Regions from separate parts of the Homo sapiens genome. Here regions 1, 3, 4, 5 and 6 are each linked to region 2. Evidence: promoter capture Hi-C in 16 types of primary human blood cells and fetal thymus (Javierre and others, 2016). All regions are on one chromosome and are shown on one strand. Each heading gives the region's core, a stretch centred on a gene start or on the middle of the fragment in contact. The rest is flanking DNA. Distances are from core to core; before and after follow the strand shown. Region 1 overlaps ENTREP2 (endosomal transmembrane epsin interactor 2). Region 2 holds the start of NSMCE3 (NSE3 component of SMC5/6 complex). Region 3 overlaps ENTREP2 (endosomal transmembrane epsin interactor 2). Region 4 overlaps ENTREP2 (endosomal transmembrane epsin interactor 2). Region 5 overlaps APBA2 (amyloid beta precursor protein binding family A member 2). Region 6 overlaps ENTREP2 (endosomal transmembrane epsin interactor 2).

What was found. Contacts are between HindIII fragments. The CHiCAGO score rates a contact against its expected background, and 5 or more counts as called.
Region 1: a contact is called between a fragment that was not itself captured here and the fragment with the promoter of NSMCE3 in region 2, in 2 of 17 cell types (total B cells and naive B cells). The highest score is 7.7, in total B cells.
Region 3: a contact is called between a fragment that was not itself captured here and the fragment with the promoter of NSMCE3 in region 2, in 1 of 17 cell types (naive CD8 T cells). The highest score is 5.4, in naive CD8 T cells.
Region 4: a contact is called between a fragment that was not itself captured here and the fragment with the promoter of NSMCE3 in region 2, in 3 of 17 cell types (naive B cells, megakaryocytes and total B cells). The highest score is 5.7, in naive B cells.
Region 5: a contact is called between a fragment that was not itself captured here and the fragment with the promoter of NSMCE3 in region 2, in 1 of 17 cell types (naive CD4 T cells). The highest score is 5.4, in naive CD4 T cells.
Region 6: a fragment that was not itself captured here is called in contact with the fragment with the promoter of NSMCE3 in region 2 in 2 of 17 cell types (megakaryocytes and total B cells); the score reaches 5.7 in megakaryocytes.

Annotation. Positions count from the first base shown.
Region 1 is chr15:29,395,884-29,399,939 of GRCh38, forward strand. The region is part of intron 1 of ENTREP2 (endosomal transmembrane epsin interactor 2); the gene reads right to left. Among named protein-coding and RNA genes, the nearest start is that of NSMCE3, 130 kb to the left of the region's middle. The HindIII fragment of the contact is 2,489 bases long and covers 829-3,317 here.
Region 2 is chr15:29,268,239-29,272,184 of GRCh38, forward strand. It overlaps NSMCE3 (NSE3 component of SMC5/6 complex), which reads right to left and starts at 1,584. Exons shown (of 1, transcript NM_138704.4): 1 at 1-1,584. The coding sequence starts at 1,467. The coding sequence ends at 553. All of the region lies in intron 2 of ENTREP2 (endosomal transmembrane epsin interactor 2), which reads right to left. RefSeq lists enhancers at 879-1,380, 1,381-1,880. The HindIII fragment of the contact is 8,019 bases long and covers 1-3,080 here.
Region 3 is chr15:29,130,450-29,134,671 of GRCh38, forward strand. All of the region lies in intron 7 of ENTREP2 (endosomal transmembrane epsin interactor 2), which reads right to left. Among named protein-coding and RNA genes, the nearest start is that of NSMCE3, 140 kb to the right of the region's middle. RefSeq lists an enhancer at 1,904-2,520. The HindIII fragment of the contact is 7,022 bases long and covers 1-4,222 here.
Region 4 is chr15:29,427,259-29,431,344 of GRCh38, forward strand. The region is part of intron 1 of ENTREP2 (endosomal transmembrane epsin interactor 2); the gene reads right to left. Among named protein-coding and RNA genes, the nearest start is that of ENTREP2, 140 kb to the right of the region's middle. The HindIII fragment of the contact is 2,550 bases long and covers 1,272-3,821 here.
Region 5 is chr15:29,097,317-29,101,044 of GRCh38, forward strand. It overlaps APBA2 (amyloid beta precursor protein binding family A member 2), which reads left to right. Exons shown (of 15, transcript NM_001353788.2): 9 at 1,174-1,260. Among named protein-coding and RNA genes, the nearest start is that of NSMCE3, 170 kb to the right of the region's middle. The HindIII fragment of the contact is 7,917 bases long and covers 1-3,728 here.
Region 6 is chr15:29,449,864-29,453,637 of GRCh38, forward strand. All of the region lies in intron 1 of ENTREP2 (endosomal transmembrane epsin interactor 2), which reads right to left. Among named protein-coding and RNA genes, the nearest start is that of ENTREP2, 120 kb to the right of the region's middle. The HindIII fragment of the contact is 4,810 bases long and covers 1-3,774 here.

The sequences.
Region 1 (4,056 bases), core at 823-3,322, 130 kb after region 2:
GTTTTCATGTGCTTATTAGCCATCTGTATCTCTTCTGTGGAGAAAGGCCTAGTCAAGCCTTTTGCCTATCTTTGAAGCTTTCCTCCCAGCTTTATTGAGGTATGACTGACAAATAAAAACTGTATATAAAATGTACAACATGATTCTGGTATACATATACTGTGAAATGATTACCACAATCAAGCTAACCATATCCATCACCTCACTAGTTACCATTTCTTCTGAGTGTTTGATAAGAACATATGAAGTCTCTTTCAGAAAATTTCAAATATACAGCACATTATTATTAAGTATAGTCACTATGCTGTACATTACGTCTCCAGAATGTATTTCTTTTATAACTGAAAGTTTATACCCTTTGACCAACATCTCCCCTTTCCCCTCTCTCCCCCAGCCCCGGGCAACTACGCTTCTCCTCTCTGTTACCATGAGTTTGACTTTTTTTTTTTAGAGTCTACGGACAAGTGAGATTATTCAGTATTCATCTTTCTGTGTCTGGCTAATTTCACTTAGCATAATGTCCTCTGGGTTCATCCATGTTGCCAAAAATCCTTTGCCCATTTTTGAATTGTGTTCTTTACTTTTTTGTTATTGAGTTTTAGGAGTTTTCTATATGTTCTGGATAATAATTTCTGATGAAATATGTGATTTTCCAGTACTTTTTCCCATTCTGTGGGTTGCCTGTTTACTCTCTTAATAGTGTCCTTTGATGCACAAGTTTTTAATTTTGATGAAGTCCAGTTTGCCACTTTTCTTTTGTTGCTTATGCCTTTGGCATCATATCCAAGAAATCACTGCCAAGCCCAGGGTTGTAAAGCTTTTCCCCTAAGCTTCCTTCTAAGAGTTTTATAACTTTAGCTCTTATGTTTAGGTCTTTAATCCATTTTGAGTTAATTTTTGTATAGGATGTTAGTTAAGGGTCCAACTTCATTTTTTTTGCATGTGAACACATTAAATTAGTTTTTACAATTTAATTTATATAATTCAGTTATACAAGGAGTGACATAGTAACTGATGGGGGAAAAGGCTATTCAATAAATGGTTCTGGGATAATTGTTAAATGTAAATAAATAAGCAGATAGAGAAATTAAAATTAGTTCCCTCCCACAAACCAAAATACATTACAAGATGATTAAAATATTAAATGTAAATAATTAACCACCCAGGTTACTGGCTAAAACTCACAGAAAGGCAACTGCTCCTCAAAAAAATTTACTGAGAGGCCAGGCACAGTGGGTGGCTCACACCTGTAATCTCAACACTTTGGGAGGCCGAGGTGGGCAGATCACTTGAGGTCAGGAGCTCGAGGACAGCCTGGCCAACATGGTGAAACCTGTCTCCACTAAAAATACAAACAATTAGCCAGACATGGTGGTATGTGCCTGTAGTCCCAGCTACTCAGGAGGCTGAGGTAGGAGAATGTCTTGAACCCAGGAGGCAGAGGTTGCCGTGAGCCGAGATTGTGCCACTGCACTCCAGCCTGGGCGACAGAGTGAGACTCCATCTTAAAAAAAGGAAAAAAAAATTTACTCAGAAAAACACCTTATAAGTAAGTAATCAATAAAATGCAAAGTGGAATAAGAGGTCCCTTGCTGCCTGTCAAGCTAGCAGTGGTTAGAAAGAACAGTGGTCCTCACTTACAGGGCTGTAGAGAATGTACATCATTAAGAGGTGCGATGCTGTCAACTGGCAAAAAGTATAATAAACAAAGCATGGGCTCTATGCAAATAAATTCAAAACCCAGGATGACAAAGATAACTTGCTAAATTACTACAATTGATTCCCCAAAAGACCAAAACACTAACTGTTCCCATAAACACCAAGAAATTGGAAATATGCTCAAACAGCTGTAGGCAAAGTCTTCAAAAACTTCTACGTATGAAGATTTCCAAAGCTGTTTAAATTTTTTCTGAGCACAGAGGGAAAAAAGGGGGAACTTCCAAATTGTCTTTATAAAGGTCAGTGTAACAATCACAAACCTGTAAAATATCACAAAAATAAGGAACAGACCAGTGGCTTTTAAACAGAAGTACATTGTTTTTATTTTATTTTTCCTGTGCTGGATCAATATTTAATGAATTTCCCCCATGTATCAGGCATTGTTGGACTCTTTCAGATATTTAACTCCTTCCCCCTCATTATTTATTTGGCAAAAGTTACATTAAGTTATTCCCTCCCCTCACAAAGCAGGTTCTCCCTGACTTCAAGGGCCAACATCCAAACAAAACCAAACATGAAAGACAGAGACTCAAAAACTTAGCATTCCTCATCTACTACACATACTAGATATAAACACACAAATTTAAATGCCAAAAACTCATAGGACAGTGCATTAAAATGATAATTTTACTGGTACATCATTTTTAAATAAAAGGTTAGAAAACAGAATTCAGCAGTACATTTAAAAGAATGAAGAACATGGGGGTTCACGTCAGGAATGAAAAGATGGTTCTGCATATTAATGTGACGAAAATGAAAAATTCTTTCATTCAGTAGATGCATGGAAGACGTCCAATAGAATTTGATCTCCATCCTCTCTTTTAAAAAAGAACTCTTAGGGCTGGGGGCAGTGGCTCACACCTGTAATGCCAGCACTTTGGGAGGCCGAGGCTAGCGGATCACTTGAGGTCAGGAGTCCTAGACCAGCCTGGCCAACATGGTAAAATCCTGTCTCTACTAAAAATACAAAAATCAGCTGAGTGTGGTGGCACATGGCTATAGTCTCAGCTACTCGGGAGGCTGAGGCAGGAGAATCACTGGAACCCGGGAAACGGAGGTTGCAATGAGCCAAGATCACGCCACTGCACTCCAGCCTGGGTGACAGAGCGAGACTCCGTCTCAAAAATAAAATAAAATAAAACAAAATGATTCTGAAAGTACTCGTGTGGTATGCAGAATTATGAGATGGCCCCCAAGGTCCCCACTCCCTGGTGTACCTGCCCTGTGTAATCCTCTCCCTTGGGCCGTGGGTGGGACTGTGAATATGTATGTGATTAGGTTACGCTGCCTGACAATGGTGGATGGGAGGTCCCAAATCAGTTTGCTGTTGAGTTCATCAAAAGGGAAGTTCTCTTGGGTGTGCCTGACCTAATCAGGCAAGACCTTTGGTTCTGGGCCCTTGGTGAAGTCCCAATTTGAGGTGTAAGAAGTTGTGCTGCTGGCCTTGAAGAAGTGGGCTGCCATGTGGTGAGATGCCTCTAAGAGCTGAGAGCTTCCCCACCCACAGCTTGCAAGGAAGCAGGGCTGAGTCACACAACCCCCAAAATGAATTCTGCCAACAACCTGAAGGAGTTTGGAAGTGGATCTTTCCCTCGTAAAGCTTTTGGATGAAGATGCTTCCAGCCTCACCAGGATTTCAGCCTGCAGACCCTGAGGACAGGACCCAATTAAAACACTCCAGAGTCCCAACCCTTAGAAACTCTGAAATAATAAGGTTGAGCTGTTTGAACCTGCTATGCTTGTGGCAATTTGCCACATAACAATAGAAAACTAATATATCTAGCTAATAACACTAAAAAGGAAAAATAAAAGAAAGTTATAAACATTGGAAAGAAGAAGCAAAATCATTACTATTTGAAAATAAAGTGATCACCTAATTAGAAAACCCAAAGGAATTGATTCAGAAGAATAAGAAACCATAAGAAAATTCAGTATGTTACCTGGTTACAAAATCAATATGTTGAAAATTATAATACTATATATAGTTGTCCCTTGAACAAGAGGGGTGTTAGGGGCACCAACCTCCTGTGCAGTCAAAAATCTATGTATAACATTTTCACTCCTCCAAAACTTAACTGGTAATAGTCTGCTGTTGACTGGAAGTCTTACCAATCAGATAAACAGTTGATTAACACACATTCACATTTTGGATGTCGTATGTACTATATGCTGTATTCTTACAATAAAGAGAAAAGAAAATGCTATTAAGAAAGTCATAAGGAAGAGAAAATATATTTTACTATTCATTAAGTGGAAGTGGATCATCATAAAGGCCTTCATCCTTGTCATCTTCTTGTTGAGTAGGCTCAGGAGGAGGAGGAGGAAGAGGAGGGCTCA
Region 2 (3,946 bases), core at 334-2,833:
TGAATAATTATGAATATAAACAATTACTATTGGGAGAAAATACATTACACTCATTGCTTGGAACCATGAATAATACTTATATATGTACGAAATATAGAAAAATAAAATAGGTTAACATAATAAGGATATAGGCAATTATTTTTTTTAATTTTATAAAAACTTTTATTTTTCCTTACAAACTGGGGTAGTTAGGAGACCTGATAATAGCTTTTTTATTTTCTTGGCACCAAAGCAACTTACTTATGTGTTCCTTCTTGCATTATCTGTTCCAGATCATAGTCAAGTTTTCCAATTCGTTTTACTAAGCTAGCAAAATTTTTTATACCAAAAAGAGTAAAATCAAAACAAATGCTCCTTTGTTTATAGATGAAAATCTGGAGCAAAATAACACAACATTAAAAAAACAAAACTTTGCAAACACATCCTAAAGCTACACACATTGAAGCGTTTACAGCAATATGCTCCCTGGGTTCGTTCTCCCTTCCCCCAATCCTCTAAACTGTGCCTTTGGGTCTCAGACCCTTGTCCCGGGGGTCCCTCTGAATCCACCTTTCAAGAGGATGGAGCTGGGCCACTAGGCTGAGGTCTGGCCCTGTTCTCCTCATCTGCCAAAGCCTCACAGTACTGCGCTGGCCAGTCCTTGGGGTCTTGATTATGGACCTTGGCCACAAACTTAAGAACTTTCATCTTGCTGGTTTCCAGGTTGGTTCGCGGGCCCCACTGGAATTCGTAGTCGACGGGGTCGGTGTGGGGTATCCGCCGGTATTCCAGGTAACGCTGTCGCACAAAGTCCTCAGTAATGAGTTTCTTTGGATCTCCGAAAATTAAATGCTTCTTGGTGGGGTAGACCCCTAAGCGCCGCAGAAAGTCCCAGGCTTCAGTTTCCTTGATGGTGTTGCCCTTCATAAAGATGAGCCCTAAGACGATCATCAGGAGGCCCGTAGTGGGCGTGCCTTGGTCACCCCTCATCTCGGCATCCTCCTCCACAGGCTCCAGGGTGTTGATGAGGATGTAAGTGTTGCTCTTGGGTTCAAGTTCCACCAGCTTATACCCGAAGACGTACTGGAGGCGCTCGGCGGCCCGTTTGAAGAGGTCGGGGAAGATGTCCTTGTAGTCCCCGATGACGTGCTTCAGTATGTCGGCCCGCTTGATCGGAATCTTCTTCTGGTCTTTAATCAGCAAGAACTGCACCAGCTCGGACACTTTCAGCTCCAGCTGCTTCTGGCTCCTGGGCCCCACGGCGGGGGCGGCCTGGGCCCGGCGGGCGCCCTGAGGCGAGGGGCCCTGCGACCCCTGCGAGCCGCCCGGCCCGCGGGACGTGCTCGGGGCCTCCTCGGCAAAGCCGTCTCTGAGAACCCGGGCGTCTTCCCCGGCCCGCGAAGCCCCGGGGTTTCCGCTATGGCTCCAGTCTCTGTCCCTCTCGGCCTGGCCGCCAGAGCGGCCCCGGTTCCTCGGTTTTTGCAACATGTCTCCGGCGGCAGGTGCCGGCGCACACTCCGGTAGGCAAGCAGCCGCGGCGGGGATTGCGGGTCGGCGACCCGCTAACGCCGGTGCCTGGAGGCGCGCGCAGTGTCGGCTGAGACTGCGTGCTGCGTCATGAAGCCTGCGCCTTGCGTCAGGGCGGCTGGGCGGTGCGCCTGCGCGGCTGCGGCGGGTACCAAAAGGAACAGCGTTTTCCGTGCAGCCCTGCAGGTCCGGGCGATGATTTTTAGTATAGTGAAGTGTTGTTACCAAACCATGCAAACAGAGAGCGAGAACCGAAACTCCTAAACAAGTGTGTCGCTAAATTCAGACCACACAGGCTCAGGCAAGTTTTACAGACAGTATTATGAGTTTCTAAATCGGGAGCATTTGTAAACGGAAAGAATTCAGAGGATGAACGTGTGAGAAAAAAAAAAGGTGAAGAGGAAGGGCCGACCGTGGAAGTAAAGTAAAAACATTTATTTCTACACAAAATGTAGAAGGACATAAAAGACCCAGAGGGCTCTTAGTTTTCGTCCCTCCACCCAATTTCATACCCTCCATCCCACTGCCCCCAGTTACTTTCTCTAATGCCCCGTGGAGTCTGTTAAAAACCAAAGTCGGCTGCAGGCTTTCTGCGCAAGCAGGACTTCAGTTTCACTATTTCCGTATTTATATTCTCTGCATTAAACTCCTTTAGCTAGACAACTATGAGAAGACCACAAAAAACGTGTCAGTATTAGGTAAATGTTTTAGCTTGGTCACATGGGTTTATCTTTTGGAAAACAACTGCTTTCGTCACAACCACAATTTTAGCAGAAATGGGTAAGAGGAATGCTGCAAACAAACGTGCACTCTCAAGAGATTACTACTTAATTTGGGGCATCACTGATCAAGAATTGCAATAATGTGGAGCTCTTAAATTTCTTAATTCATAATATATTAGCTTTGAGGAAAAAAAAGAGAACACTGGGGGATTTATCTCTCATCTATGATGTGATATACAGTCTCTACTGTATATTTTAATTGTGCAACTCAAGTAGCCAAAATGAGTCATTTCATTAACTCAAACCATCAGCAGTCTGCTGCCATGACTTCTACAGATCTTAGCAAATTTGTTTCTTCTCTATTTACTTGCAAAGAAGAAACTGAATTTCCCTGTGTCTTTTTAAAGCTACCCAGAAAGTGGATAAACTCTTCAAAGAACCAAATTGAGTTCCTCTTTAATGCAAATATATTCAAAGGAAAGCAATTTAGAACACATTATCTGAGTAATAGCATCAAACACAACCTTATTAAAATTTTGTTAATTGTTAGTAGCATAACACTTTTGTTTGTAATTCAGTAGGAAAATGCAATCTGATAATGGCACTGGAACTGCAATAGTAAATGTAAAATCATATTCCATGAACTAATGCAAGTATGCTAAAATCTGGTATGCAATGAGTAATAACTTACTGTTCCACACAAGATGCAACTATATCCTCAGGCATCAATTTTAATGACAAAGGCCTACTATGAAAAACAAATATATTATCAAGGCATTCATTTTTTTACAATGAGAAAATTCATCTGCTTCAGTTTCCTTGCAAATTAAAATCTGGACTTAGGTTCATAGAAGCTTCCTGCCATCTAGAATTCTGCAAAAGGTCCCTACTGCAGGATGTGGATGTTGTATTGAGGGAATAGAGAGACCGTCTCATATTGTTTTATATTGTTTTATACTCAGTACCTGTTTTAAGAAAAAACAACAAGGAAGTAAAACCAAATACAGGCAGCCCAGCGCCAGGCCCAAAACCAGGCCTGGGCCTGCCTGGCCTAAACCCAGTAGTTAAAAATCAACTCATAACTTAGAAACCGATGTTATTCATAGATTCCAGACATTGTATAGAAGAACATTGTATAAAGAACAGAACTGCCCTGTTCTGTTTCTCTCTGACCACCGGTGCATGTAGCCCCTGTCACATACCGCCTGCTTGCTCTGATCAATCACGACCCTTTCATGTAAAATCTTTAGTGTTGTGAGCTCTTTAAAGGGACAGAAATTGTGCATTTGGGGAGCTCGGATTTTAAGGCAGTAGCTTGCCGATGCTCCCAGCTGAATAAAGCCCTTCCTTGTGCAACTCGGTGTCTGAGAGATTTTGTCTGCGGCTCGTCCTGCTACAGTGCCTTGAGTCAAAAAAGTTCAGTGACCGAGATATAAGGGGAAAGTGGAAAATTAGATAAAAGCTATTGTCAACAGTTGGGCTGGTTTTTCAGTGCTCTTTCTTGCTAAGGTATTCATGTACGTTACCAAGCAGCCCACCAGTCAGACTACCCCTGTCACTGTGAAAATCAGCAGTGTCCTCCAGCAGCACGCTTACCTAGATAGCAGACTGTCATTACTCAAGATAGAGGAGAAGAGATACCAGTTTTTAAGTCTCAAAACATCTCTCTACACTCTTTCCAGAAGAATGCAGGTGAGAAAATGCAGACATAAAATAAG
Region 3 (4,222 bases), core at 594-3,093, 140 kb before region 2:
CCCTCCCGTATCTAACCCTCTCTCGGACTTGCTTTTCTTTTGGATCGTAGACGGGTGGTTAACTTAGAACTCCGCTGTCTAAAAGAAAATCTTCTGGTAATAAAGAAATATAAATAAAACAAGAGAAAGAAAATATACAGTGGGACAAGGTCAGGAGGAAACTGGATTCACTTCATGTTGTGCAGAAGCATCATTCACTTCCTTCTGGCTCCCGGTCAGATTTGGTTTCCAGAGGAGGCAGCTCCTGGGAGCCTATCTATCACCTCTCGCAAGCAGAGTGTCAAGAGTTTAATTTAAATGTGGCCCTTCCCTGATGTCAGAAGCCACCTTGCCACGCTAAGCCATGGGGAAAATAGCACTTCCTTTCATACAGCATTTTTGATGAACTATAACAGCAGTAGAAAAGGGTGGGGAAGAAATATATTTGTGGCATAGAATTTAAGTTGAAATTTGAGTTCAGTGAGGAAGCTCATAAACACAGCTCCTTACAGAAGGAGAGCGGGGAGAGGGCTGTTGACAGGAGACGCTGTGGGAATCACTTCACCTGGGTCTTACTGGTTTGCAGATGTGCTATTCTGAACAGTCATCGTAACTGGAAAATAAGTTGGCTTTTCAACAAATAATTCAAATTGTATGAAGCTAAGACACTTGCATGGAAATTCTGCCCCATTCTGTAGTTTCCCACTCCTGGGTGAGGCCAACCATTAGAAACAGATTTATGAAGAGCTCTTCGTTTGGGGCAATTCCAGCGATTATGGAAAATGTGAGTTAAAATTTTAGGCTGGTGGCTCAAGGCAAACTTTGAAGACACTTTGCTAACAGATTTTATGTGGATCGTAAGTGTCAGGACCTGGTGCTGCTCCTGGACTCTGCTGGTCCCTCTCCCTTCTCACAACTCCTTGTCTCGCACTCAGGTTCCCTTCCACCTGGCATGCTGCCACCAAATTAAACTCCTAAAGCATCACTGGGTCGCACCCAAGACGCCAAACTCCTCAAGGGCACTTCTACAGTTTGACATCCAAAGCCATAAAATATCTGCCCAAATGATTTCAGCCCTGGGGTGCTGAAGCTCCCACAGCCAGGCTCCAGGCTGTCCTGCCATGCGCCTTAGCTGGTGCTGTGACCTTCACCTGCACCACCTCCCCCTCCTTCACACACCCCAGCCCGACAAGCCCCCCCATATCACCTCCCCCTCTACACGCACCCCAGCCCACCCAGATCACCAGGCCCGATTCCTCTGCAGAAGCCTCAAAGGAGTTCGTGTCTGTCCGGTCTCCATGTGAGAGTGCGAGAGTGCCACGACAGGGGGATTCTGTCCTACATCCTCTGGAGGGCCACCGTCGTCAGTGGCCCCTGAACCATACGCTTGCCACCCAGACAAGAAGATCAAACTGGTAATTTCTCAATCACTTTCCTGCTATCAAAAGAAACTCACTCCTTGAACACTGGCTGAAGAGTACAGCCTCAAACCACAGGAAAGAGAATGGCATCTGACCTAAGCCGGAAGGGAAGTGTGCACGGCCCGTCACCCATGCGAGTGCTCACGGAGCCCACCCTCGTGGAGGCCGCCCCCTCTTGGGTTAAACCTCTTCCCCAGCACACCCCCTGCCCCGCCCCAGAGTCAGCTCCTCCCCGACAGAGCCCGCCTTCTGCAGCCTCCTCTCTTTATCCAAACTGAGGCCGAGGGCACTTTCTACGCCATTTGTCCTAACAAGGAGGAGCACTACTGACCCTGCCTCGCCCGGGCTGCGGGGTCGTGCTGTGAAGGGGTGCTCCTTGCTGTCTAGTCAGAGGGGCCTTGCTGCCTGGGGAGGGGACAGCTGGTGGTGCAGCTGGCGGCACGGCCTTCCCTCTGTGGACGGTAATGGGTTTCTTTGACTTCCAGACTCCCAGACACGGCCGTGAATTGAAAAGTGCTCCCAGGCCATGGGGTCAAAGACAGTGGGCCCGAGGGCTCTAGCGGCCCCTTCATCACCAGATGCTGCCCTGCTGCCAGGCGGGCGCCCAGGGACAGGCCCTGCAGGCGGTCGTGCTGTGCCCCTGCCAGCACTGGGAGCTGGGGGTCTCCGAGCCAACACATGCTAATTCGAGATCAGCCTCTGACCTTTCAGCTGTTCTCACCGCAGTTCTGAGAAAGAGATCTCAACTGAGAGAATTCCCCAGAGTTCTGGAGAAGGGTGTCGCATTGGTTTCAGAACCAGCCAGATCCCTTCCAATATATTCTATTCTTCAGAGAAAACAGTAAAACTGTGAACACAACAGGAACCCATTCCTTCCGGGGGCCGCTGTGAGGTCAGACATTGAATGGCACACCCAGGTCCAGAAGCTACTTCCAGCAGGCAGGGCCCTCGGGAAGCCAGGGTCTGGGCTCCACGGACAGGGGTTCCTGTCGTCAGGAGGCAGAGGGGTCCAAGGGGCAGGGAGAACCGGGAAGCAGGCTCAGAGCCAGTCCCAGTGCAGAGCCGGAATTGTGATGGCAGCAGGCAGGGTCACTGAGCAGAGGCGGTGAAGGGGACAGAGCTGCCCCCGCGCCACAAGGCAGCCATGGGGAACCACACACCCCTGCCGCCTTCAGGGGTTTCCGGGTCCATCTGCCGCCCTGCCCGGTGCCCCTGCTGGCTACAGCATGGAGCTTCCCATTGCACCCTCGGTCAGCCTCCCCTCTGCCTTCCCAGGGGCTTCCCTCACGGAGGGCCCTGTCCTGGGCCTGCCATCCCCAGTATCTAGGTCCTTCCACATCTGCCTGGTAACCTCCTCAAGGTCCTAGATCCACACTCCCCTCTACCTACCATCCCATCTTCTCTCCTCTTTACCAAACATCCTGCGAGAGTGATCTACTCCTGCTCTCAAAGTGGGAGCAGCAGCAGGGCTGAGGCTTTTATACCCCCAACTTCAATACCCCAATTACTGACTCAGGAGCCCTGGGGGTGGGCCCAGTCATTAGGATTTGATTATCAAGTTCCCCACAGGGACACCCACTGGTGTCTGAAAACCACAGCCACACCTGCGCTCCCCTGCGCACGTGCCGTCCACTCCTTTACCTGGTGTGGTCCAGCCCTGCCCTCCATCGCATCAAAGCTGCTCTGCCAAGGCCACCAGCAGCCCCTCCATGGTGCGCCACGTGGCCCTGGATGTTAGCTTCTGGACAGCACCTGACCCATTGCTTTCTTCCAGAACTGCTGGTTTTGGCAAATCCAGGCTCCTGGGAGCCCTGCCTAGTGCCCTGTAGCCTGTCGTGTGTGGGGGTGCCTTTCTCCTGCCACCTGCAATGGTGTCATTCTGTGGGGCTCCCTCTCTCACATTTCCCAGGCCCCAGTGACAGCGGCAGCTAACTCTGATCACTATGAACTACAGCTCCTGTCATCTGGTGGACACTCACTCAGAATTCAACCCACCACACCCAGACAGGTCAACACCCATGCACACTCATCCGAGACTCTTTACGGACGACCTTCTGTTTGGGGGATACGCTGTGCCTGTCCTTCTTCCCTCTGAGCCTTTGCACAGGCTGTTCCCTCTCTCAGGAGCCCTTCCAGCCCCACTCCCTGCACCTCGCATGCCTGATGCCCACCCAGCCTGACCTCCCAGACCTTCCATGGACCCCCAAATTGGGCCTGACATCATGACAGGTGCCCCACAGTGTACTGGGCTCCCCTTGCAGTGCTGATGACAACTATTATCACAGCCAACTGTCTCCACTGATAACATTGATTTGAATTATTTTTATCATAAATGGAAAACTAAACAACATTGGGAAGGCAGAGGTCCCAGCTCAGCTTTATAAAAACACCTAAGAACATCTCCATTACTGCCAGTTCAGGAATGGGATTTCAGGGCCATGCCCACCTCCTGACTAAAGGATTCCTCTCCACAGGCAGCTCCCACACATCTGCTTCTAGCACCCACAGTAAAAAGGGGGTCCTGGCCGGGGCTCAGGGGGCCACTGTCTGCAGCCTGCCTGGCTGCTCCAGGTGTTTCAGGGTGGCTGCTTGGGGACTGTCTGCTTGTGTGAGGATGTGCTGGGGGCTCACGGGCCAGCCGGAAGCTGATCTGGCCCACCACAAGCCACCCTGAAGGAGGTCCCTGTGGTATATATGACTCCCCAGGTGCGGGGCACCTTACAGCGTCTGAATGCGCTGTCCATATATGACTCCACAGGGCACAGAGAAGTCACATCTCTTCCTGTCCTAAGACCACCCTGCCTGCAACGGTGACCAGTCCT
Region 4 (4,086 bases), core at 1,297-3,796, 160 kb after region 2:
TTCCTCTCCTCCACTGTTCATACGAATCATGGAGAAGCGGGGTTGAAAACGAAGACTGCCTGAGCCCCAACCCCCGGAGTCCAACTTGGGGTACCTGAGATATAGCCCTATCTGTTAGTTTCCTATTGCTGCTGCAACCAATGACCAAAAACTCAGTGGCTTAAAACAATACAAAATTATCACCTTTCAGCTTTTGAGGTCAAAAGTCCAAAATGGGTTGGGTTGGTAGGACTGAGCTCCTTCTGGAAGCTCCAGGGGAGAGTCCCTTTCCTTGCCTTCTCCAGCTTCCAGAGACTGCCCTCAGCCCTTGGCTTGTGGCCCCACTGCACTCCTGAGTTCTGCTTCCATCCTCGCCTCTCCTTCTCTGACTCTCCTGCCTCCCTCTTTCCCTTATGAGGGCCCTTGTGACTACCTTGAACCCATTCAGATACCCGGCATAACCTCCCCATCTCCAAACCCATAACTTCACCACATCTACAAAGCCCCTTTTGCCATGTAAAGTAATACATTCATAGGTTCCAGCGATTAGGAAGGACGTGGACATCAGTGGGGTTGGGGGTACGAGTCTCCCTATACACCCAGAAACCTGCACTTTGAACAAGAACCAGCAGACTGCCTGGTGAGAAACACCAAATCACACCCACTACATGGTGGCTGGAGCTTTTTCCTTTAGGACACTCTTCAGACCCATCACCTTAAAAGTCCGAAACCAACAGAGTGATAAATATCATAATATAAACAAAACACCATCCTTGACAATTTATTAAGATAAAATATTGCAGTATGTACCTAGACCTACCCAGAATTCATTTTTAAGTGGAAAGTTAAATGACAGAACAGAAATGTCTAAGAATCATTGGGGAAAAATACAAGTCAAACCCAAAGCCAAGTCCACTTTCCACAGCAGAATCAAGATGACACCCTGTGGAGACTCCGATACACTCAAAAAACATACTTCCATGTTTGTTTGTTTGAGACAGAGTCTCACTCTATCGCCCAGGCTGCAGTGAAGTGGTTCGATCTTGGCTCACTGCAACCGCTGCCCCATGGGTTCAAGCGATTCTCCTGCTTCAGCCTCCCGAGTAGCTGTTATTACAGGTGCTCGCCACCACACACGGCTATTTTTTTGGATTTTTAGCAGAGATGGGGTTTCACCATGTTGACCAGGCTGGTCTTGAACTCCTGACCTCAGGTGATCCACCCTCCTTGCACTCCCAAAGTGCTGGGATTACAGGTGTGAGCCACCGTGCCCAGCCACTTCCATGTTTTAAAGCTTCACTTTTCCATCTGTCTTAAGCTCTTTTCCCAAAAAAAAAAAAGTAAAATTTCTGAATTGTTTAAATACATTATTAGGAAACAGAACTTAAAAGGCCAGTCCTCTTAGTACATGCCCAAATTCCAAATGTGTCACTATTTCTATAATAAATAGCGCCAGCACTGACAGACTTCATAATGCAGGGTTTCCTGTGCTGCCATTCACCAGCACACACAAAAGTGAGAGTAATGAAAATGTCAGGAAACGGCATCCCATTTAGAAACCAGGAAATACAAAAATGCAGCTATCAGTCATCCCTAAGGCTGGCCAAATAAAAGGTTTTAAATATAGTCACGGATCACCAGTGTCACAAGCAACAACATTCACTGCACAGAGAGGCAGCAGAATTTGCAGCATTGAGGATTTGCTGGGTGGCTGATGAGATCTGCCCACTTTGAACTTGCTCTCAACTGACATACCCAGATCTATTTTTACATTAGCTGTCAAAATGATAGGTCTCCTGCATCCTATGCCTGCACTGTTAATTATCTATCTGCCTATCTGTCTATCCATCCATCCATCCATCTTGAGATGTCTATCTATCCATCCGTCCATTCATCTATCTTGAGATGTCTATCTGTCCATCCATCCATCCATCCATCTTGAGATGTCTATCTATCCATCCATCCATCCATCCATCCATCCATCCATCCATCCATCTATCTTGAGATGGGGTGTTGCTCTGTGGCCCAAGCTGGAATGCACTGGTGCGATCTTGGCTCACTGCAGCCTCAACCTTTCAGGCTCCAGCAATCCTCCTGCCTTAGCCCCACAAGTAGCTGGGACCACAGGCACACGCTACCACACCTGGGTAATTTTAAAAATTTTGTAGAGACAGAGACTCACTACGTTCCCAGGGCTGGTCTAGAAATTCTGGCCTCAAGCAATCCTCCCACCTCGGCCTCCTAAAGTGCTAGGATCACGGGCATAAGCCACCATGGCCAGCCAATATTTAATTTTTGAATTTGGGACTCCCACGTTGGAGCTGGGATTTTGTACTTACATGTATACTCTCTAGCACATGTAACCCATTAAAAACATCACCTGCTTTGCTGGTTGCAGTCCTTCCTCCCCTCTGTCCTAATTCTGACAGGATCCGGTAGAAGGGACAAATTCGTCTGTGGTTGAAATCTACGGACAGCCATGAGCTGAAACTACGGACCCCGTAGTTCTCAAAGGAATACAGAGAAGCAGGTATGGAATGCCAACAGGGCTGTGCAATGCCCGATCCGGGCCGGCGTGAGGGCACCTCCATGATGGGGTGAGGATGAGGGAAGGAGTCCCAGTTCAAGAAGCCGTTACCAAAAGGCACTCCTAGCGAGCCAGGTGGCTTCATTCATCCACGCCTGATGTAAAGCCACCCACATACCCCATCTATACAATAGGGCTGGGCGCAGACTTTCAAATACCTATTGAACCTTTACTTCCTCTGAAACCCAGAAGCCTGTGTTACAGACCTCAACCACCACATACACATTGTCTCTAAGGAGAAATCAATTCCGTGGGGAAAACCTGGGAATGGAGGAAGCGGAAACAAGAAAGTGGGAAGTGGGGAAAGGCAAGAAGGCTTTCTTTCAGAAGGTGAGTTAGAGATACCACCTGTCTCCCCCATTGATAAAAGGCTCCTCCCATGGCTGGCTCCACTCATCCTGCCAGCCTCATTTCAAAGGCCACAGGCTCAGAGAGGTCCCTGCTGAGCCCCGAGTCCACAGCACAGCCCTGGCCCCTCTCGATGGCCTTGCAGTTTTATCTTAAACATGTATCTCTGTATGAAATGGTTTCCTTATTTTTTGCCTGTCTCTCCTGCTCTAGGACGTGTACTCGCCAGGCAGAGGCCTGGTGTGTCTTCTCCAAAGCAGTATCTCCAGCTCCCAGCACAGGCCTGGCCCATAGCAGGGACTATGATCATTATGAATGCATTGAGAAGCCAGGCATGGTGGCACATGCCTGTAATCACAGCTACTCGGGAGGCTAAGGCAGGAGAATCACTTGAACCCGGGAGGCAAGCAGAGGTTGCAGTGAGCCAAGGTCATGCCACTGCACTCCCGCCTGGGCAACAGAGTGAGACTCCATCTCAAAAACAAACAAACAAACAAACAAAAAGAATGCATTGAGAGATGGGTGGGGGAAGGATGGGAGGAAGGAGGGAGGAATGGAGGTACACCCATCACTCGGTAAAACAAGGCCTAATCTGACCTAGATTTAATTATCCTGGAGACCACCCACTCCCCAAAAAAGGGCCAATGACCACTCTGAGTCGGATGGATTGACATAAGGAGAGAGAGGCAGTGTCCAATGAAACTGTGCTAGAGATCCTCATGGTCCCCAGGTTCCTGGTCTTACTGACACGGCTCCGGTGAGCTCCCACCCTCCCAGATGTCTTTCTAGTAACTCCTTTGTGCGTAGCTACCCAAAGCTGGTTTCTGCTGCTTGCCCTAAATATACCCCATTCCAGGAGCATGTATTCAGGGTGGCTGAGGCACACTGCGGGCCCAAACTGTTTTCAAGCTTTACATCTGGGCACTCTACCTGTTTAATCCTCACAAGGACCTAAAGAGGGAAATGCAATTATAATCTGGTATTCTAAGGATACCAGTGGCCGGGTTACGTAACCCCGGGTAAAATCACGCTGGCAGTAACAGGGGAGCCTCGGTTTATACCCAGGCCATAAATTTCCCTCCTGCGATGCCACGCTGGCCCCTGCACGTATGGTTTATTGTGATAAGTAAAGAATCCTATATAACTTATGGTTTTTATGAATCTAAAATTTT
Region 5 (3,728 bases), core at 92-2,591, 170 kb before region 2:
GGCGACAGACCCAGGCGTCCCGCCCCATCTCGGTCAAGCTCCCGGGGGCTGGCCCTCCTCCCTCCCAGGTGCCTCTTACAGACTGCCTCGAGAACTCACACTTAGCTAGATGATGCGGCCGGTGGCGTGCAGGTAGATTTCTGATGGCCAGTAGCATTTCCTTCTACGTGGACTCTGGGTAATTGTTAAAATTGCCGAGCCTTCCTTCGAGTTATTACTTTTTACATTGACGGATAAAATTGTATGTATTTGTTATGTACAACATAATATTTTGGAGCATATACACATTGTGAAATGACTATATCTAGCTAATTAACGTGCATTACATCACCTAGTTTTAATTTTTGTAATGAGAACACTTCATTCACTATCTTAGCAATTTTTAAGAATATGAAATATTATTAACGGTAGTCACCATGATGCACAATAGATCTCTTGAACTCATTTCTCCTGTCTAGCAGGAGCTTTGTGTCCGTGGACCAATACTTCCCCCTTCACTCCTTTGCCCCAGCCCCTGATAACCACCATTCAGCTCTCTACTTCTGTGAGATCGACATTTGTAGCTTCCACCTGAGTGAGATGGTGCAGTATTTATCTTTCTGTGCCTGGCTGATTTCACTTCACAGCATGTCCTCTAGGGTCATCCATGTGTTGGAAATGACATGGCTTTTTCTTTGTGAAGGCTGAGTAGGCCTCCAGTGTGTCTGCGCGCCACATTTCTTTATCCATTCATCGTGAATGGACTTCGGGTTGATCCCATGTCTTGGCTGTTGTGGATAGTGCTGCCGTGAGCATGGGAGTGCAGGTGTCTCCTAGACACGCTGATTTCACTTCCTTTGGAAATATGCCCAGCAGTGGGATTGCTGGATCACATGGTGGTTGTAGTTTGAATTTTTGGAGGAACCGCCATTCTATTCTCCACAGTGGCTGCACTGATTCACACCCTCCCACAGTGTACCAGGGTTCCCTTTTCTCCACCCCACGCCAGTGCTTCTTATCTTTTATCTTTTTGACGAGAGCCATTCTGACAGATATGAAATGATATATTGTTGTGGTTTTAATTTGGATTTATCTGGTGATTAGGGATGTTGAGCATTTTGTCATAATGCTATTTGCATGTCCTCTATTCCGAGTTGGTTTTTGGACTTTAACAATATCCACTGTCCTTCTTAGAATTCTGAGGGGGATGCCCAGACGCTGACGGAAGTGGACCTCTTCATTTCCACCCAGAGGATCAAGGTTTTAAATGCAGACACGCAGGTAAGCGTTTAAGACAGTTGTTCAAAATCAGGTAAACTCCTAAGTTCGACTCCTTCTTGTCCCATGGTATAGGCCCTCGTTCTCAGCAGCTTCTCTCCTGTGCTCTCTGCGCCCATCAACCCAAGGCCCATAGCCCGGGCTGCGGGAGGAGCAAGGAGCGCACAGCAGGTAGCAGTCGTGCTGGCGTCACCCCAGGGCTCTGCGGGCGGGAGGTAGGTGGGAAGACCTGCTGGGCTACCTGGGCCCTCCCCTGCTTCCCCACTCCCGGGTAGCCTGACCTCTGGGGACAGAGGAGGCAGCAGCCCCCACTATGTGGCTCACACTGCAGCCCACCACTCCCAACCCAGTGCCGTGCCCTGACCATCCTCCAGGCCCTCACATACCCTGATACGGGCACAGGGGCGCCCTTCCTCATCCCATGTCTGTCCTGTGTCCAGGCTTGCACCTTGTCCCACTGATCTTTGTGTCCTGCACCCCCCTACCCTGGAACCAGCCCCCTCCTGGAGCCTGGCACTTGGTGAAAACTCAGGGAGACAGGTGCCAGGGCTCAGGCACTGGGCTTGCGACGCTTCACAGACTTTGACTTCATTTTCTGATCTTTTGTGGGCAAACCATCTGGACTAGATCCCCCCACCAACCCTCCGAGCCCCATGCCTCATCACCCACCTGTGCTGGGTGTCCCCAAGACCACCACAGGCTGGGTGGTTTGGAGGACTGACAGGACTCAGTGAGCTCACAGCTGAGATTTATTTCAGCAGATGGCTCCAGAGCAGAATCAGCAAAGCGGATGCAGGCTTCCAGAGCCCTCCCCGCAGTCACACAGGACACACTGAACTCCCTGGCAAGGGGCTGTGACAACAGAGAAGTTGTGTCTACCAGGGAAGCTCATAGACACTCAGCCCAAGGTGTTTACTGGGAGTTGGTCATAGGCACCCTCTGCCTGGCAGCTACCAAAATTCCAGACTCCCAGAGGCAAAAGAGGTGTCCAGCCTAGACCACGTTGTTTGCACAAACGGTTTAGGCAAAAGGAACCATGGTTGTCAGTTCGGGTGCTGGGTACCCTCCTGAGATCCACGTTCCCAGATGCCAGAGAGGGCCAGCCTTGCAGGCGGGCCTTTCTGGGTACAGCTGCTAGGCCTGCCCCAGTACCTCTTCTTGCCAGTGTACATGGAGGGTGCCACACCTGGGGTGGGAGGATGGGCTTGGGGATTGAAGCTGAGCCCCATCCTCATGAGCTGTATAGCCTTAAACAAGTTCCTGAACATCTCTGAACCTCCTAATACCCACAGCCCCAGCTGAAAGAGTAACTCTTCCGCTGGATCCTGTGAAGGAGAGATGAGAAATCTCCTAGGCTGGCCCAGTTCAGGGTTCACTCCACTGGCCCCTTCTCCCTTCCTTTCCTTTCCCTTCTGGATCTTTGGATTCTGGACAGGGCATGCAAATTAAAGCTGTTGGGGCAGAGGAGCTGGAGAGGAGGGAACAGGTGAGAGACTGGGAAGGCCAAAGTAGCCATTCAGAGCAGGAGAGCAGATGCGGCCATGTTGGTAGGCAGCCTCTGTGAGGAGGAGGAGGGATCTGCCATTGATAGGAGCTGGGGAAGGAACATGTTTCTGACACCTGGGGATTGATTCAGGCATTTATGACAGTGACAGAAATCAGGAGATGCTGAAGAGCCACTCCAACTGTTTCCTTTCAGTGTCCCTCCCTGGAAGGTGACTCTTGTGGTTATGAAACAGCCTCATGGCTTTGGCCAGAAAAAAAGTCAGCAGCTGAGACAAAGGTGAAGCAGCATGCACTGCAAAGTGGATTCTGTGAGGAAGAAATGAGGTCCAGAGGTTGCAGAAACACTCGAGTTTCTTTTGTGAACAGAGGACAAAAGCATAAAAGACCAGTTGATTAGTTTTTTTGAGCTTTGTGTGCAGTCTTGTTAGGTAGGGGTTGTGGGCAAGATGCTGGCTGGAGATTCCTGTCCAAGGACAAAAAACCATCAAGAGTCATGGGCCTGCCAGAGGCCGAGGGAATTGAAGTCAGGTGGGCTACCTTGGTGTCTTTTGACCCAGGCCCAGGCTGTTTGGGCTCCCTGGGAAGAGCTCATTGAATGACAAACATTGGCCTTGATGCTTTCCTCTTCTGCACAGCAGGAAGGCCAGGCCAGGCCACTCTTGGGCCCATAGGAGAGCACCTCGTTCAGAAGGGACCCTTCTCCAGAGCCACTGGTGGCCTCTCATCCGGGAATGTATGGGTTTCACTATATGGCAAGCCCCTGCTCCAGCAGAGACAGCCCGAGAGCTCACCTGACATCACGCCTCCCTGGGTTCTGCACAGTCCATTTTGGAAGCTGGGACTGAGATGAGGGCAGAGTGACTTTGACTGTAAATCATTACCCTAAAACGCTCTGTTAATTAGGGCCGTGGTTCTCAACCAGTGTGATTTTTGTCCCTCAGGGGACATTTAGCAATGGCTGGAAA
Region 6 (3,774 bases), core at 418-2,917, 180 kb after region 2:
TAAGAAGTGTTTAAGCAGTCCCTTTCCTCTACAAACTCACCGGTACCTGTTGTTTTTTGACTTTTTAATAGAAGCCATTCTGACTGGTGTGATATGGTATTTCATTGTGCTTTTGATTTGCATTTCTCTAATGATAAGTGATATTGAGCATTTTTTCATAGGCTTGTTGACTGCACGTATGTCTTTGGAAAAGTGTCTGTTCATGTCCTTTGCCCACTTTTTAATGAGTTTCTTAGTTTTTTGCTTGTACATTTGTTTAAGTTCCTTGTAGATTCTGAATATTGGACCTTTGTCAGATGCATAGTTTGCAAATATTTTCTCCCATCCTGTAGGCTGCCTGTTTTCTCTATTGATAGTTTCTTTTCTGTGCAGAAGCTCCTTAATTATGTACCATTTGTCAATTTTTGCTTTTGGTGGTGTTGTCATGAAATCTTTGCCAGTTTCCATGTCCAAAATGGTATTTCCTGGGTTATCTTCCAGGGTTTTTATAGTTTTGGGTTTTTACATTTTAGTCCTTAATCCATCTTCAGTTGATTTTTGTATATGGTGAAGGGAACGGGCCCAGTTTCAGTCTTCTGCCTATGGTTAGCCAGCTATCCCGGCACCATTTATTGAATAGGGAGCCCTTTCCCCACTGCTTGCTTTGCAGGTGGGGGTGTAAATTAGTTCAATCATTGTGGAAAGCAGTGTGGCAATTCCTCAAAGAGCTAAAAACAGAATTACCATTCAGCCCAGCAATCCTAGTACTGAGGATAAACCCAAAGGAATATAAATCATTCTATCATAAAGACACATGCATGCATATGCTCTCTGCAACACTATTCACAATAGCAAAGACACTGAATCAACCTAAATGCCCATCAATGGTAGACTGGGTAAAGAAAATGTGGTACATATACATCATGGAATATGATGCGGCCATTAAAAAGAATGATGTTCCTGCAAAGGAACATAGATGGCCATTATCCTTAGCAAATTAATGCAGGAACAGAAAACCAAATACTGCATGTTCTCACTTAAAAGCGGGAGCTAAACAATGAGTACACATGGACAGAAAGAGGGGAACAACAGACTCTGGGGCCTACTTGAGAGAAGAGGGTGGGAGGAGAGAGAGATTCAGGAAAAAAAAAAACTGTTGGGTACTATGCTTAGTACTCAGGTGAGGAAATAATCTGTACACCAAACCCCCAAGTCACGAATTTACCTGTATAACAAACCTGCACTGAACCTAAAATAAAGGTTAAAAAAAAAGAAGTGTTAACAGCTCCAAATAAGTAAGAGTAACTGTCCACTCCCTGCAGTTGTTCCCACTGAGCCTCTGGTGGCCCCACCCCAATCCCTATGGGGTCTAGAAAGAGTGCCCCGGTCTCCCTGGTCCTTCGCTGATGATGGGGGGTGGCAGCTCTCTGGCCGGCCCTCGGCCCTCGGCCCTCGCCTCTCGCCTGTTAGGTACCCTGGACTTCTCCACATCCTTCCCCACCCCTTCTCGCCTCTCCCACAGGAGTCTGCAGGACCAGGCCAGCAGGTGGCTCAGCTGAGCATCTGCAGACACAGCACACCGACCCCACAGAGAAAAGGCACTCCCAGACCACTGTCACAGAGAGCTCATGTCGGGGGCGCGAGGGGCTGAGAGGGGCCAGTCACAAGTCAGGCAAGTCCATACAGGGACACAGAGAGCAGGCAGAGGTCAGGGCAGCTGTGGATGACTCGGGGCGTGACTGAAATGCATGAAAGGATGGTTCAAGAACAGCCCAGCAGCTCCCCTCTGCCCACCACGGGAGGGTCTTCACTATCAGTGAGGAATTAAGACTGCAGGCAGCGAAGCCCCCTCCCCACCGGAACCTTGCAGGGCTCCCTCGAGGGGCCACCACTCCTATCACAGCCACTGTCCTGCTCATCCCAGTGACCTTAGGGGCCCCACCCCCCTGCAAGTCCTGCTCACTGGCAAGCCTAGCTTGGAGGCAACGCTCGGGGCAAAGCCAGAGGGTCCTCCCCAGGCCTTCTGTGCAGACCTCTGCGAAGAATCCTGCTCAGCAGTAGATATTTATTGTATTTTAATATCAGGGCCAAAAGCTACAGTTCGCTTTTCAGTTAAGTAAATGTGTATTCACTAAAGGGTTTTAAAACCTTTTTCCTGAAAAAAATGTTCTAGACCATCAAATGCCTTTTTATATTGTTAACTTTTACTCATTTAAAATGCATGTTTTCTAAGCCACATTTTACACACTTTTCTATATAGACAACTCTCAATTAATTCCCTAAGCCAAACCCAGAAATGTTTAACACACACTTTATTGACACTAAGGCACAAATGATGAGTGGCCTCTAGTGTTACCCACAACCATCTGCTTTCTCAGCAGCACTGGCACCTGGTGCTGACAGCCCCTCACCCACCCCCATCTCCCATTCCCCATCCCAGAGCAGGCAAGAGGGGAAGTGGATATTGGGAATCCTGAGAGAGCAGGGATTTGGGGCAAGCAGTAACCAGAGAAGGGAAGCCATAGCCCTTCACCCTCGTCAGCTCCCAGAAGCCTCTGAAACACCAGGAAGGAGGCCTCATGCCACATGGTATGGAATGGGGCTCAACTAATGTGATGTGGCGAATAAGCAGAACACGGGCTGCTTGGCTGTTTCATCTGCTTCTGTTTTCTTGGTAGTATCTGGCCTATCAGAGACAATTATACCACACCACAGTCACAGTCCTACCTGCCTCTGAGTCCTAAGTGCAGATTCTTAAGAAGAACAGACGGGAATCCTTTAGCGTCACAGGGTAGGTGTGAGTCTGCGCTCCAGGCTCCAGAGATGCTTCTGCAAGCATGCTGCCCAAATCCACGTCTTTTCTGCTACTGGGAGCTCTCTCATCTTTAAAATACAGAATGCATTTCTCATATCTGAAGGAATATATTTAACTGGTGTCTCAACATAACACTTAAAGCAAAACCCAAAAGCAGAGGGTGGGGGGTTGGGGGGAGTAAAGAGCAGCCATATCCCAGTGGAGGGGCAGGAGGAAGAGAAAGAAGGCCTCAGGAGACCTGGTCAGGCCGGCTGAGCGGCAGGGGATGCAGGACAAGCAGGCAGAAATGAGTGGAAAAGCTGAGAGAGGCCGAGAGGAAATTAAACCGGAGGAGGCAGAGCCAAGTAACGAGCAAACATGAAAGGAAATGCCTCCCTGCTTCCTGCCCTTTCTAAAATCACCTCGAGGCAACTGACCACAAATAGTCTTCTATCACAATAAAAAAGGAGATCAGAAATTTCCCGGCTGTTTAGTGGCCTGCCAATGCCACACCACAGTCACCGGCCTTCACTGAACACCCCGGTGCAGGGGGAGAGAATGTAATAACTTCTTAAGAATCTGCACTTAAGCCTCAGAGGCCGGTAGGACTGTTACTGTGGTGCAGTGATCACGGTGCTGCAAGGCACGGCAGGACAATTTCACAGCCCTGTCCTGGAAGTGGCGGAGGGGAGGAGGACTGTGCCTCACAAGCAGTGTACTAACCCAGGGATGAAAAGCACACATTTACTTAACTGAAAAGTGAACTGTAGCTTTTGGCCCTGATATTAAAATACAATAAATATCTACTGCTGAGCAGGATTCTTCGCAGAGGTCTGCACAGAAGGCCTGGGGAGGACCTGCTAGCTTTGCCCCAGCAAATACAGAGCATAGACACCCCCACCGGCCAGAGTGCCCTGGGCTGGGCTGCACACTTCCTGTTGATTTCTTGTCCAATTATCTCAATAATACATCCTCAAGGAAGGAAGTGGAGAACACACAGA